Linked DNA regions of Homo sapiens: all the other regions are linked to region 1. Evidence: promoter capture Hi-C in 16 types of primary human blood cells and fetal thymus (Javierre and others, 2016). All regions are on one chromosome and are shown on one strand. Each heading gives the region's core, a stretch centred on a gene start or on the middle of the fragment in contact. The rest is flanking DNA. Distances are from core to core; before and after follow the strand shown. Region 1 holds the start of DNMT3A (DNA methyltransferase 3 alpha). Region 2 overlaps DTNB (dystrobrevin beta). Region 3 overlaps DTNB (dystrobrevin beta). Region 4 overlaps DTNB (dystrobrevin beta).

The links. Contacts are between HindIII fragments. The CHiCAGO score rates a contact against its expected background, and 5 or more counts as called.
Region 2: a contact is called between a fragment that was not itself captured here and the fragment with the promoter of DNMT3A in region 1, in 4 of 17 cell types (M2 macrophages, M1 macrophages, megakaryocytes and 1 more). The highest score is 8.1, in M2 macrophages.
Region 3: a fragment that was not itself captured here is called in contact with the fragment with the promoter of DNMT3A in region 1 in 1 of 17 cell types (M1 macrophages); the score reaches 5.2 in M1 macrophages.
Region 4: a contact is called between a fragment that was not itself captured here and the fragment with the promoter of DNMT3A in region 1, in 2 of 17 cell types (naive B cells and M1 macrophages). The highest score is 7.2, in naive B cells.

The regions. Positions count from the first base shown.
Region 1 is chr2:25,340,520-25,343,708 of GRCh38, reverse strand. DNMT3A (DNA methyltransferase 3 alpha) reads left to right here and starts at 1,784. Exons shown (of 23, transcript NM_022552.5): 1 at 1,784-1,883. RefSeq lists an enhancer at 872-991 and silencers at 1,112-1,591, 1,652-1,861, 2,152-2,321, 2,422-2,661, 2,942-3,061. The HindIII fragment of the contact is 8,821 bases long and covers 1-3,021 here.
Region 2 is chr2:25,580,064-25,583,023 of GRCh38, reverse strand. DTNB (dystrobrevin beta) reads left to right here. Exons shown (of 21, transcript NM_021907.5): 7 at 2,198-2,303. Among named protein-coding and RNA genes, the nearest start is that of DTNB, 92 kb to the left of the region's middle. The HindIII fragment of the contact is 172 bases long and covers 1,459-1,630 here.
Region 3 is chr2:25,479,994-25,483,352 of GRCh38, reverse strand. DTNB (dystrobrevin beta) reads left to right here. Exons shown (of 21, transcript NM_021907.5): 10 at 480-557. Among named protein-coding and RNA genes, the nearest start is that of DTNB-AS1, 61 kb to the right of the region's middle. The HindIII fragment of the contact is 3,990 bases long and covers 1-3,359 here.
Region 4 is chr2:25,503,832-25,506,700 of GRCh38, reverse strand. The region is part of intron 9 of DTNB (dystrobrevin beta); the gene reads left to right. Among named protein-coding and RNA genes, the nearest start is that of DTNB-AS1, 84 kb to the right of the region's middle. The HindIII fragment of the contact is 970 bases long and covers 1,053-2,022 here.

The sequences.
Region 1 (3,189 bases), core at 535-3,034:
GGTTTACTGAGAATCTCCTAGCACCAAGTGCTGGGCTACAGGGATGACAGACGCGGCCCCTGTCCTCACAGAGCACTGGGAGTCTCTGGGCCGGTGGGGACCATGGACAGCAGGGCCTATCATCAGTAGGGCGGGGTGGCCACTTGAGTGAGGGTGACACTGAAAACGGCCAGAACTATGGCCTAGAAGCTGGTCTCAGATATCGAGGCTCAGGGTGGGGGTTGGGGAGACGGAGGGACCTGGAAGCATTGGAGAACCTCCCGAAGGAAAACCTTCCCGTCTGTATGAAAGGTCAGCTCCCGGTCCCAGAGAACTTGGCAACTCGGTTCTGTGACGCTAAAAGGGTGGCGTTGGGGGGGCGGGTGCTGGGCTGCATGGGGAGAAGGGAAAAGTAGGATCCGCTTCACTGTGAAGTGAGTCCCACCACCAACTCCAGCAATCCCTGCCCACAAGTAGGATGGCGGGTCCCTGGGAAGGGAGCACGCCATGTCCTGTGCCAGTCAGGGAGCTCAGGGCACTGTGATATAGCTGAAGTGCTGAGTAGAATTCGGGGTGCAGAGCTGCGGGTGGCTGGTGGGGTGCTGGGGCGCGCAAGGAGGCTGGAGGCGGGGGTGGGGGGGTGCCCAGCCCCAAGTCCTACAGCGGCTGCTGGAGGAGTGAGATGAGCACATAGTGAGTGGCTGTGCTGGTGGAATTAGACAGAGGTGCCCCAAGTCAGGAACCTAGAGCCCTGAGCGCTCCATGGGGAAGGAGAACAGCCCCCACGGTGAAGGGGTGAGGGCGGTGTGTAGGCACACACAGAATCTTCCAGCTGGAAGAGACCTTCAATGTCATTTCATTCAACCTCCCACCTCATGAAATCTTTCAGTCTTCCAGTGCCCAACTGAGGACACCCAACTCTACTTGGACACCTCAAGGTACGGGGAACTCACTCCCTTCAAGGCAGCTCATCTCAGAGAGGCTTTGGAGCCTGCGGGACGGCCAGGAGGAGCCTGGCGCTCCGACCTTGGCCCTGTAGAGCAGAGTGGCCTCTACTCCGCGGCGGCACCTGGCTGGGGGTTGCGGCGCGGTTGGGCCAGCGCTGCTGTCCCCAGCCCCAGTGCTGAGGCAGGCAGAGCGCAGTGGGCTCTGGCGGAGGTCGGGAGAACTGCAGGGCGAAGGCCGCCGGGGGCTCCGCGGGCTGCGGGGGGAGGCACTTGACACCGGCCCGGGGAGAGGAGGGGCCGCTGTCCCTGCGGCCAGTGCTGGATGCGGGGACCCAGCGCAGAAGCAGCGCCAGGTAGCGGGGCGCCCAGCGTGGGGAGGGCTGCGGCGAGGCCCGGAGCTCGGCTACGACTCGAGGGGCTCTGAGTGGCCGGGAGCGCGGCCGAGGCGGGGCGCCCGGGGCCCGGCCCCCGGTCTGGGCGGTGCGGGGTCCAGACCTCCGCCAAGCGGCGTGCGGGGACCCCGGCGGGGCCGCAGAGGCCGGGAAGTCGCGCCGAGGGCGCTAGGACCGGCCGCGCGCCCAGGCCGCTCCCGCCGCGGCGCCCCGGGGCCCCCCAGTCGGCGCTGCCTCCCGGGCCGGCTCCGCAGCGCCGGGGCCGGGGCCAGCGCGGCCGCGGGGGGCGAGCGGCGGGCGGAGGCCTGGGCCCGCGGGCGGCCGGAGGGAGGGAAGGAGGAAGGCGGAGAGAAGGGGTGGGAGGGGGGGACCCGGCGGAGGAGGCGGAGAGAGGGAGCGCGACAGCGAGCGGAGGGAGGGAGCGAGCGAGCGAGGCAGGCAGGCGGGCCGGGAGGGAGGGAGGGCGCGCGGGCGGCGGCGGCGGCGAGAGCAGAGGACGAGCCGGGACGCGGCGCCGCGGCACCAGGGCGCGCAGCCGGGCCGGCCCGACCCCACCGGCCATACGGTAATGAGCGCCGCTGCTGGCGGCCCGGAAGGCCGGCCCGGAGGCGGCGGGGAGCCGGGGAGCCGGGCGGGGGGCGCCGCGGCTGGCAGTGCCCGGCTCGGGGCACGCTCCCGGACCCCTGCAACTCGGCGCCGGGCGCCCGTGGGGCCGGGACTGCAGGCGGGGACGGCGGGCCGGGCTGGCCGGGGCGGCGCGGGGGATTTGAGGGTTTGTTTATGTCCCCGCGGGCTCGGCAGGCGCCCCCTCCCGTCCCGCCCGCTCCCGGCGCGGACCCCCCTCCCCGCCCCCGCCCGGCTCCGGGCTCAAGTTCAAGTCTATACAATGCCGCGGGGGGCCCCTCCACCGCCGGCCTGCGCCGCGGTGCCCGGCTCGCCGCTGCCGCAGGGGCCCCGGCCGGGCCGCCCCCGCCTTCCGGGCTCTGCCCCAGCCCCGCGGCCCCGCCTGGAGCCCGCGGCCAGGGCGCCGGAGGGCGCGGACCCCGACCCAGAAGGATCGGCCCCCGCGGCGGCCCGGGGGAGCGGGGGAGGGGGCGGGGGCCGGGCCCCGCGCAGGCTCCGCGGCGGCGGCAGAAAATGGCAGCCTGGCACGACCCGGCCCCCCGCCCCTCCCCCCGGCGCCCGGCCCTCCTCGGCCCCGCGGGGCGGGGGACCCGGGAGGCCCCCGGGGGCGGGCCGAGGGGTGATGGCGGGGCCGGGCCGGGGAGCGCCGCGCCGCGATCCTCCTCCGGCCACCTGTGGCTGGGGGTGCGGGGCGCCGGCGGGGCCGGGAGGGGCGGCGGGGCCGGGGAGAGCGCCCGCCTTGGGGGCACACCTTCCCCCGGAGTGCCGGCGGCACGGAGAGGGGTGGTCGTGCCCGGCTCCTCCCTGTCCCCACCGCGGGCCGTGGGTGCCCGGGCGGCCGCGGTGGCGGCGCCGCAATGTGGGGGCGGGGCGGGGGCGGGCGAGGATCCCGGGCCCGGGCCCGGGCCGCGGGGGCCGGAAAACGCGGGGGTGGAAGTAGCGGGGCCGGGACCGGGAGCGGCGCAGGGGGGGTACGCCCGGGGTCGCCCCTCCAGCACCCCCGCGCACACTCCCACGCACGCGGACACACTCACGCACACGCACCCCGCCGGGCCGGTGCAGACGTGTCCTTGAAAGCTTCGCATCTGCACAGTGAAGGACGAGGCCTCGCCGCGGCTGCGGAGCGGGGTCTTCGGCCCCACGTCCCCGCACCCCGGGAGACCTCGAGCTTCGGAGCCGCAGGCGGCGGCTGTCCGTGTCCCGCCCTCACCCCAGTTCCCCTCCCCCAGGCCGCCCTGCCTTCCCTC
Region 2 (2,960 bases), core at 295-2,794, 240 kb before region 1:
CTCCCAAAGTGCTGGGATTACAGGTGTGAGTTGCCACGCCCAGCCAATCTCAATAATTTTGAATAGACACTTTTGACTTTATCTTGGTTTGTTGGTTATTTGCATGTCCATAGAGGCATTTTCCATATCTGTTCCTGCATTCAAATATTAGGTGGCTTTATGGTTTTTAATGTTATTCACTGGTTCCTCCCAGATCCCACCAAGGTCTCAAACAATAGTATTCTTGGATCCTGAGATGGAAAACACTTAGGGTAACCTTTATTTAGCCTATTTGGGTAGGTACTTCTCATGCTTCACCATCAGTGCTCATGATGTGTAGAGGCCCTTTGAATGACAGCTCCATACCGCCAATCATTCTGTCAGCCCTTTTGCGTAGTTCTCAGCTCCTCCCGCCCCCCAGTAGTTCCATATTAGAAGTTAAATTGAGGAACTGTCCAATTACTTAACTACTTCCTGCCGGCCTGCAGGCTTTCTGGAGATGAGATTGTCCCTCAGCTTTCTTCATCTTTTCCAGATTTTTATTGCACAGCTTCTTTCCTGCTGTGCCTTCTACTCTACCTCCCTTTTCTATTCCCCATTAAGCAGTTTCTTATTTTAAATATTATTCTCAATAAGATGACCTCCAATTTACGTATACTGGAATCAAGATTCTCCCAGTCGCTAGAAAGATGCAGAGGAATAAGTCTGTCTAGTCTTGAGCCTTATGAGACAGGAACTCTTGTTGGGAGGTTCCGGTGGTTGGTCTGATGGCATCCCTGGGGGCCTCCGTCCTTCAGGCCAAGCATCACAGTGTCTTCACTCCTCGCTTCCGGTTTGTGTTAAATATATATATTTTTAGTGGTAAAAATCAGAGTTATTTTGTAATCAGCCAGCAATATCTTTAGGTCAGCCCTAACCAATTTTATCTTTTCTACCTTTTTTCCCCCCTTGAAATAAATGATTTAAACATTTTATGGGGAAACACCTATATTTTTTATATCCTGTTCTTCACATTAAGAAAGTGGTGGGACTGAGAACAGTTACTTGGGAGAGACCAAGGTGAAATTCTGGGTGTGCTTTTGGCTTCGCCCCAGCCACCACCCTGCCTCTGAATGGTGGGATCAGGACATGGAGGAGGCAGCCGACGGCCATGCACCTCCTGAGTGTGTGCCCTGTTGTCTGGGCTCTTCTTTTGGAACAATTTGAAGTGAGATTTTCATGTCCAGGTTACAATCACGGAACTATCTTGTTGAGTTGTGTGACCTGGACTTTCAGCTCCTTTTTCCTTTTCTTTGGAGCTGGAAAGGTGTCATGTGGGCTGGAGAAAATAAAAAGAAAGTTCATTAATTTGAAATATTGTGGAGAATTTGTTCTCTCTATATCATATAACTCTATTTCTATCTTATCTTTCTAGACTGCTTTCTAATTTGGTGTCTAAGTGGGACATACTCTTTCAGTGTTTCATATACAGTGGAAGCTTACTATATATTTGTTAAAAAGAGAAATAAAGATAGAACAGAAAAATGCAGTCTAGCTAGGGAGATGGTATAACAGGAGCATTGTGATGGGCATTTGGACATGTAGGTTCCAATCTCATCCTTATCGTAACTATCTCTATGATGTTGTCAAATTATTTAAACTACTTTAAGCTTCTGTTTTCTCTTCTGTCAATGAGAAAGTTGTTAAATGATGTCTAGGTGTTTGCCCTTTAAATTATTATTATTATCTTTTCAATAGTTACTTAAGTGCATCTTGTGTGCCAGGCACTGTTAGGAGAGCTGGAAATATGGTAGACAACCAGCCACAGTCCCTGCTCTTATACTTGGGTGTGGGGTGTCTTCTCTTCCCCACTGGAAAGCGGAAATGGTGACTTGAAGGACAGTCTTGGGTTTGTGTCTGATTTGGGCCAGGCCACTACAAAACTTTTAAATGGTTTATTTGCTTATCTGTAAAGTGAATATAGTAATGTCTAACCTAGTTTACCTTATACAGTTGACTAAAATAAAATAATGTATATGGGAATACATTTGAATATACTAATAGTAGTAGTGTAAAGTACAGCATGTAGTAGTGTCTGTAGTAATGTAAAATATTTTATTTTGCTATAAAATTTACCGTGTAATTCACTAAAGTTTGGATGGGAAAAATCCTAAATTAAACTTGGAGTTTGGAGATTCCTAAAAAACTTAAAGTATGTTTGTTTTTCTTCTCTTTACAGAGAAAGATAATGCTAAATATGTTTTTAGACACAATGATGGCTGACCCTCCTCCCCAGTGCCTTGTCTGGCTACCTCTCATGCACAGGCTTGCCCATGTTGAGAATGGTAAGCAGAACTTTTATTGTTCAATTCCGCATGCTATAGAAAGTATAGGAACTGATTATTTGCAATGTCCTTAGCTATTAATATCATTGAAAATTACAGTTGACATTTGCTGTCATTCTGTCATTTCATTTTGTGGTTTTGGCTTTCAGAAGAATTTTTTTTTAAAAAAGGGAGGGTACTTATTACTTTTTTTTTTTTTTGAGACAGAGTCTCACTCTGTTGCCCAGGCTGGAGTGCTGTGGTGCAATCCTGGCTCACTGCAACCTCTACCTTCCGAGTTCAAGCAATTCTGTCACCTCAGCCTCCCGAGTAGCTGGGATTACAGGTGCCGGCCACCACACCTGGTTAATTTTTATCTTTTTAGTAGAGATGGGGTTTCACTATGCTGGCCAGGCTGATCTCGCAGAGACTTATTACTTTAAAAAGGATACCAAGAAGTAGGCTGGGCATGGTGGCTCACACCTGTAATTCCAGCACTTTGGGAGGCCGAAGCGGGTGGATCACTTGTGATCAGGAGTTCCAGCCAGCCTGGCAAACATGGCAAAACCCTGTTTCTACTAAAAATACAAAAATTAGCTGGGCGTGGTTGTGGGTGCCTGCAATCCCAGCTACTTGGGAGGCTGAGGCAGGAGAATTGCTTGAACCTGGGAGGTGGAG
Region 3 (3,359 bases), core at 438-2,937, 140 kb before region 1:
AACAGCATGCACCTCGATGTTGTGACCTTTGTAATATACAATGAATGCCAGACACCTAGTAATCTTGTACGTAAAATGTAGAGAAATTCACTAAGGGGCAGAATTTAAATTCTTATGTACTAAAACTACAAAGCAAAAGCCACCAAAGTTACGTCCTGCAGTAGTGTGCTTATAATCAGTTGCATCTCTGGTACCCACAGCTCAGTGGCCCTGTGGCTTTGTGAGGGAGAACCTCTTGCTGAATTTACTTAGGCTTGAAGTATCGATTTCTACCCCCCTCCCCAAGGGTTCCCCCCCTCCATGGGTCCCCACCTCCCCATGGGCCTCCCCTTCCCCATGGGTCCCCCCCCTCCCCATGGGTCCGTCTGTGCTTACCGCGAATGATGATTGGTCCCTTTGCTCTTACCATGCTTATCGTCGTTTCCCTTGTTTCCCCTAGTTGGTCATTATTAATATAAGGTAAATGTCTTTTCTTTCAGTCCTCCTCGCCCTCTGACTAATATGAATGACACCATGGTTAGCCACATGTCCTCTGGAGTGCCCACTCCCACCAAGAGGTACGTATGTCTTGTGCCTTCGACTTGGGTGTTGGCCTCTGCTACTGATTTGCGATGCCCCTGCCAGAAATGAGGCCTGAAAAGCAGGTTGTTCCACAGGGCAGAAAGGACTGGTTTGCTTTCTCTTCCTTTGACCGTCTTTTAGTCTTAATTTCTACTTTTTATTTTCCTTTTTTCCCCCACCGACTCACAAATATAGCAACTGAAGTTTGGCTTTCAGTGGTGCCTCAGGTGGAAACTTCATTTGTGACAAGCAGTGGTGGCAGTGTCAGAGCAGATTAGGCACGTTTCAGATCCGTTTTTTTAACCTTAAACAATATTTTGGTAGTCGTGAGTTTCAACAGTTTTGCCTTTGAATTCTTTGTCAAAGATCATTTTTGCTCTTTGATTAGACTGTGTAAATTGAATTAATCCCTTATAAAATTTTCTCCTGAATCATTCTGTGTATGATTTATAAACATTTAAGTTGGAAAGCCTGAGTCTCTCTCTTTTGGTTATGCAAGGAGTTTGCTTTAGGGGCCTTCAAGGAATGAGAACTGTGTACTTCTTTCTCCTCTTTATTTAATTTGCTCTTCTCCAAAAATTCTCTCAGGCAGGACTTAAAAGAACTATATAAAATGGCTTTCTATTTGGTATAAGCTGTTCCATGACCCAGAGCAATGCAAAAACTCCCTCAAGGGCATGGCCATTAAAGAATTCTTTCTAACAGTCATCACTCAGAAACAAGAAAACCACAAAGACATTCCAGCCCACCCCCTAGTCCTTCCTGGAAAAAAATACATTTTGTGCCATATGTACCGATTGCTTTGGATTAATTCAGCTATAGAAATGCTATAGAAATTTTGACTATATAATACATAGTGCTTAAGACAATGATGTTTGTTCCCATTGGCTAAAACTCCTACGTCAGTGTTTATCAAACCTGACTGATGAGAAGAATCACCTGGGTCACTTGTTGAAAACAGATTTCTGGGACAACATCAGACCCAGTGAACTGGAATTTCTGAAGATAGGATCTTGAGAAGCTACATTTTTATTCCAGCTGATTCTTATCATCAAGCAAGTTTGGGCAATAGCCTGACAAGGAAGCTAACGAGTAAAGTGTAGGACTACCCTGAAGAGAGAAGTTAGGGACTTAATAAATCAGAGTGGCCTGATAACACATTACCCGCATGGAGACTCAGGACCTGACCAGGTAAGAGTACTTGCCTTTAGCCTTGCTAGGGCACTTTCCAGCAGCAAGAGAGTCAGGCCACTGCTTCTGGACAGAGCTGAGTGGTACAGGGCACCAGAGCATGGACTCTTGAGCCAGACTCTTTCTGAGTTGGAATCTGGCTCTTTGCTTACCTTGAAATGTTCTTGTCTTCATTTTTTTTTTTTTTTTAAATTTGGAGACACTGTCTCTGTCTGTCACCCAGGCTGGAGTGCAGTGGCCCAATCTTAGCTCACTGCAACCTCCACCTCCCAGGTTCAAGCGATTCTCCTGCCTCAGCCTCCCGACTAGCTGGAATTACAGGCACCTGCCACCATACCTAGCTAATTTTTGTATTTTTTTTTTTCAGTAGAGATTGGGTTTCACCATGTTGGCCAAGCTGGTCTCAAACTCCTGATCTCAAGTGATCCAACTGCCTCAGACTCCCAAAGTGCTGGATTACGGGCACGAGCCACCATACCTGGCCTTGTTTTCAATTTTTTATCTCTAAAATGGGGACAAAAATAATATCTACCTTTTGGGGTTTATGTGAGAATTTAATGTATTATTTTTATGACTTAGGAAATAAACTGGAATGTGAGAATAAGTGAGGAAGAGACAGAATAATTTACCAGCAATGCCCTCTCAAGCAGGAAAGGAATTTTTATGGACGAATACAAAGCAATTAAGCCTGTCCCACCTACCTAGATATTACGATAACCCTTGCTGTCCTTGGACTTCAGTTTTTTATGTTTAACACCCATAGCATTCAAACCCAGACTCCAGATCAAAGATGTTTCCGTTTCAAAACCAGGCAGATAAGGTGGCCGATTCAAAGAATTCAGGTCATAGTTTTCCTGTTAATTATAAGAATACCATCTCATTCAGTAGCATTTCCCATCTGAATTCTTCTCATCATTTACTAGTTCTGTCACGCTAAGTCACCCGAGTACATGAGGGCGACCACAGCTGAATGTGGCTGCTAGAGGCTATTAGAAGGAGCATGGCTTTCTGGACAGTGTTTTATTGCTTGAAAAAACTAAAAGAAGGGAGCAGTAATAATCATAGCCACCTCTGTAGAGGCCTACCCCTCAGGCTTGCTGTGTTACACCTGCAGGCTTTATTGTAAGTAGCCAGCTGTGATTGCCAGTCACAAAATGATACCTGTCATTTTTGAAAGCTGCTTCAGATAATCTATAGCCTGGATTAAGATTTCATCTTAAAGTCAGTGTTTAGCCACTCTTTCTGGTGGAATTAGCCCACCCTAGAGGTGGTTATCGTAAACTTTGCAAGGGCTGACCAGCAGACCAAAGGCAGCCAGAGGGCAGACCAGAGAAGAAGGTTGAGCTCCGATTGATTAAGAAGCACAATTACTTGAGTAGCGGCTCCATAGGAACAAAATGCTCCTACCCTACCATTACAGCCCCCAGGATTTTAGGGGATTCCATTTATATTCAGTATGAGATTGTGATATACCATGTGGATACTAATTACCTAATTCATAGACTTGGCTTTTCATGGCCCCAGTAATCAAATAGTATAAATTTCCAGGTAGTATTCTACTTGTTTCCTTAATGACTCCTCAGCTTTTCTTCCCTCCTCTGAATGTG
Region 4 (2,869 bases), core at 288-2,787, 160 kb before region 1:
CATAATATTTGTACATTTTTATGGAATACATGTGATATTTTGCTAAGTGCATAGAATGTGCGGTGATCAAGTCAGGGTATTTCCTCATGTTCTCACTTATAACTGGGAGCTGAATGCTGAGAACACATGGACACATAGAGGGAAACAACACACACCAGTGTCTGTTGGAGAGTGGAGGGTGGGAGGAAGGAGAGGATCAGGAAAAATAACTAATGGATACCAAGCTTAATACCTGGGTGATGAAATCATCTGTACAACAAACCCCCATGAAACATGTTTACCTGTATGACAAACCCACACATCCTGCACGTGTACTCATGAACTTAAAAGTTAAAAAAAAAACAACTCGGTATTTAGGGTATCCGTCACCTTGAATATTTATCATTGCTGTGTGTTGGGAACATTTCAAGTTCTCTTTTCTATTTTGAAATATACAATACATTATTGTTAACTATAGTCACCCCCCTGCTCTGCTGTTGAACATTGGAACTTGTTCCTCCCATCTAACTCTGTGTTTGTACCCATTAACCAACCTCTCTTCATCCTTCCCCACCCTCACACACCCTTCTCAGCCTCTGGGTGACCATCATTCTACTCTCTACCTGTATGGGATCAACATTTTTAGCTCCCACCTATGACTGAGAATATGTGATATTTGTCTGTGTCTGGCTTATTTCAGTTAACATATAATCTTCAGTTCCATCCATGTTGCTTCAAATGCCAGGATTTCATTCTTTTTACCACCAAGTAGTATACCACATTGTCTTTCCATTGAGGGCATACAGAGAAATTATTTCTAAATAATTGATATAGAAGTAAAGATGATGTCCTGTGGAGAACTGTGTGCTGACTCAGAACCTTTGACTCAGAACCTTTAGCGATGATGAAGACATTGACGTCAAAGATGCATTTAAAGACTTTGGATGAAATTGAGTCATGAAACTGAAATAAAGCTGTATTTCTAAATTTTTGTGCTTTTAAATTTTATCAGTAGTTGTAGGAGGAAAGAGAGAAATAAGGTTTAGTAGGAGAAGTACAAGTGACAGCAAGCTTTTGATGTTTTTTTTAATGGAGCAAGCAAACCCCAAATATAAGTTGATCTTTCCCAAGAAAGGATCTCTAAAAACTAACTCAACCATGTAAACCTTTAGAATTCTAAATAAATCAAGACATATATCTTGTTGATGTGGGTACAAATGAAAAAGTACTAAAATGCTGCTGGATGCAAAAGTTTACCACCTTCAAAATGAAAAATACCCTAGACTCCTTCTAACACGTCATCAAGTTAGAAGGAGTTTGATGACTCCTTCTAACACGTCATCAAGTTCAGCTCTGTCTACAGTGGCATTCTTCAGCTTCCTGTGAAGGCATCCATTTATCATTGTCCCCAACCTTTGTATGGACATGTGAGAGAAATCGTGACAGAGGAGGCCTTGAGTGGAGAGGCTGGAAGAGTGTCATTGTCAGCTGTACTTCCACCTGGGGTACTCCAATGCAGACAGGTGGGGTGTGGAGTGAGCTCATAGCAGTGACGTGGATGCCAGTTTGGATAGTTACTTAGAGAGGATCCATGATCTATCAGTCAATCATTATACAGTATTTAGGCTTAGAAACTTTTTCAAAGCCAATCATTTCAGATATCAATTATGAATTATTTGTCACTGGAGAGAGTAATGGGCAATTTATGAATATCTCTGAACCTTTGGACCTGAAGCAAACTAACCCACTTTGAAAGTTAGTAGTAAGTTTGAAATTGGAAAGTTTGTGTCTCTAAATTTGTTCTTCTTTTGGAAGACGCTTTTTGGGCTATGTCTGTTGCGTTTCCATGTGCATTTAGAGTCAGCTCATCAAGTTTTGCAAAAAGGTATTTTGTGATTTTGTTAGGAATTGTACTGAATCAATAGATCTATTTGGGGAATATTGCTATCTTAGCAATATGAAATCTATGAACATGTGAAATCTTTCCATTTATTTAGGTGTTCTTTCTTTCAATGATGTTTTATAATTTTCAGTATACAAGCTTCACACTTTGGTTAAATTTCTTTCTTTCTTTTCCTTCCTTTCTTCCTTCCTTCCTTCCATCTTTTCCTTCCTTCCTTTCCTTCTTTCTCTTTCTTTTCTTTTCTTTCTTTCTTTCTTTCTTTCTGCCTTGCCTTCTTTCTTGCCTTTCCTTCTTTCCTTCTTTCTTGCCTTTCCTTCTTTCCTTCTTTCTTGTCTTTCCTTCTTTCCTTCCTTCCTTCCTTCCTTTCTTTCCTTCTCTCTTTCCTTCTTTCTTTCCTTCTTTCTTTTCTTTCTTTCCTTCCTTCCTTCTTTCCTTCTTTCTTTCCTTCTCTCCCTCCCTCCTTCCTTCCTCCTTCCTTCCTTCCTTCTTTCTTTCTTCCCTTCTTTCTTTCTTTCCTTCTTTCTTTCCTTCCTTCCATCTGTCCATCCGTCCGTCCTTCCTTTCTCTCTGTCACCCAGGCTAGAGTGTAGTGGTGCGATCTTGGCTCAATGCAAACTCTGCCTGCCGGGTTCAAGCAATTCTTGTGCTTCAGCCTCCCAGGTAGCTAGGATTACAGGCATGTGCCACTGCTCCCAGCTAATTTTTGTATTTTTAGTAGAGACAGGGTTTCACCATGTTGGCCAGACTGGTCTCGAATTCCCAACCTCAGGTGATCTGCCCACTTCGGCCTCCCAGAGTGCTGGGATTACAGGCGTGAGCCACTGCGCCCAGCCAGGCTAAATTTATTTCTACATATTTTTTATGCTATTGTAAATAAAACTGTTTTTTTTTTTCTTTTTTTTGAGACAGAGTCTTGCTGTGTCGCCCAGGCTGGAGCTCAGTGGTGCCATCTCAGCTCACTGCAAGCTCCACCTCCAGGGTTCACGT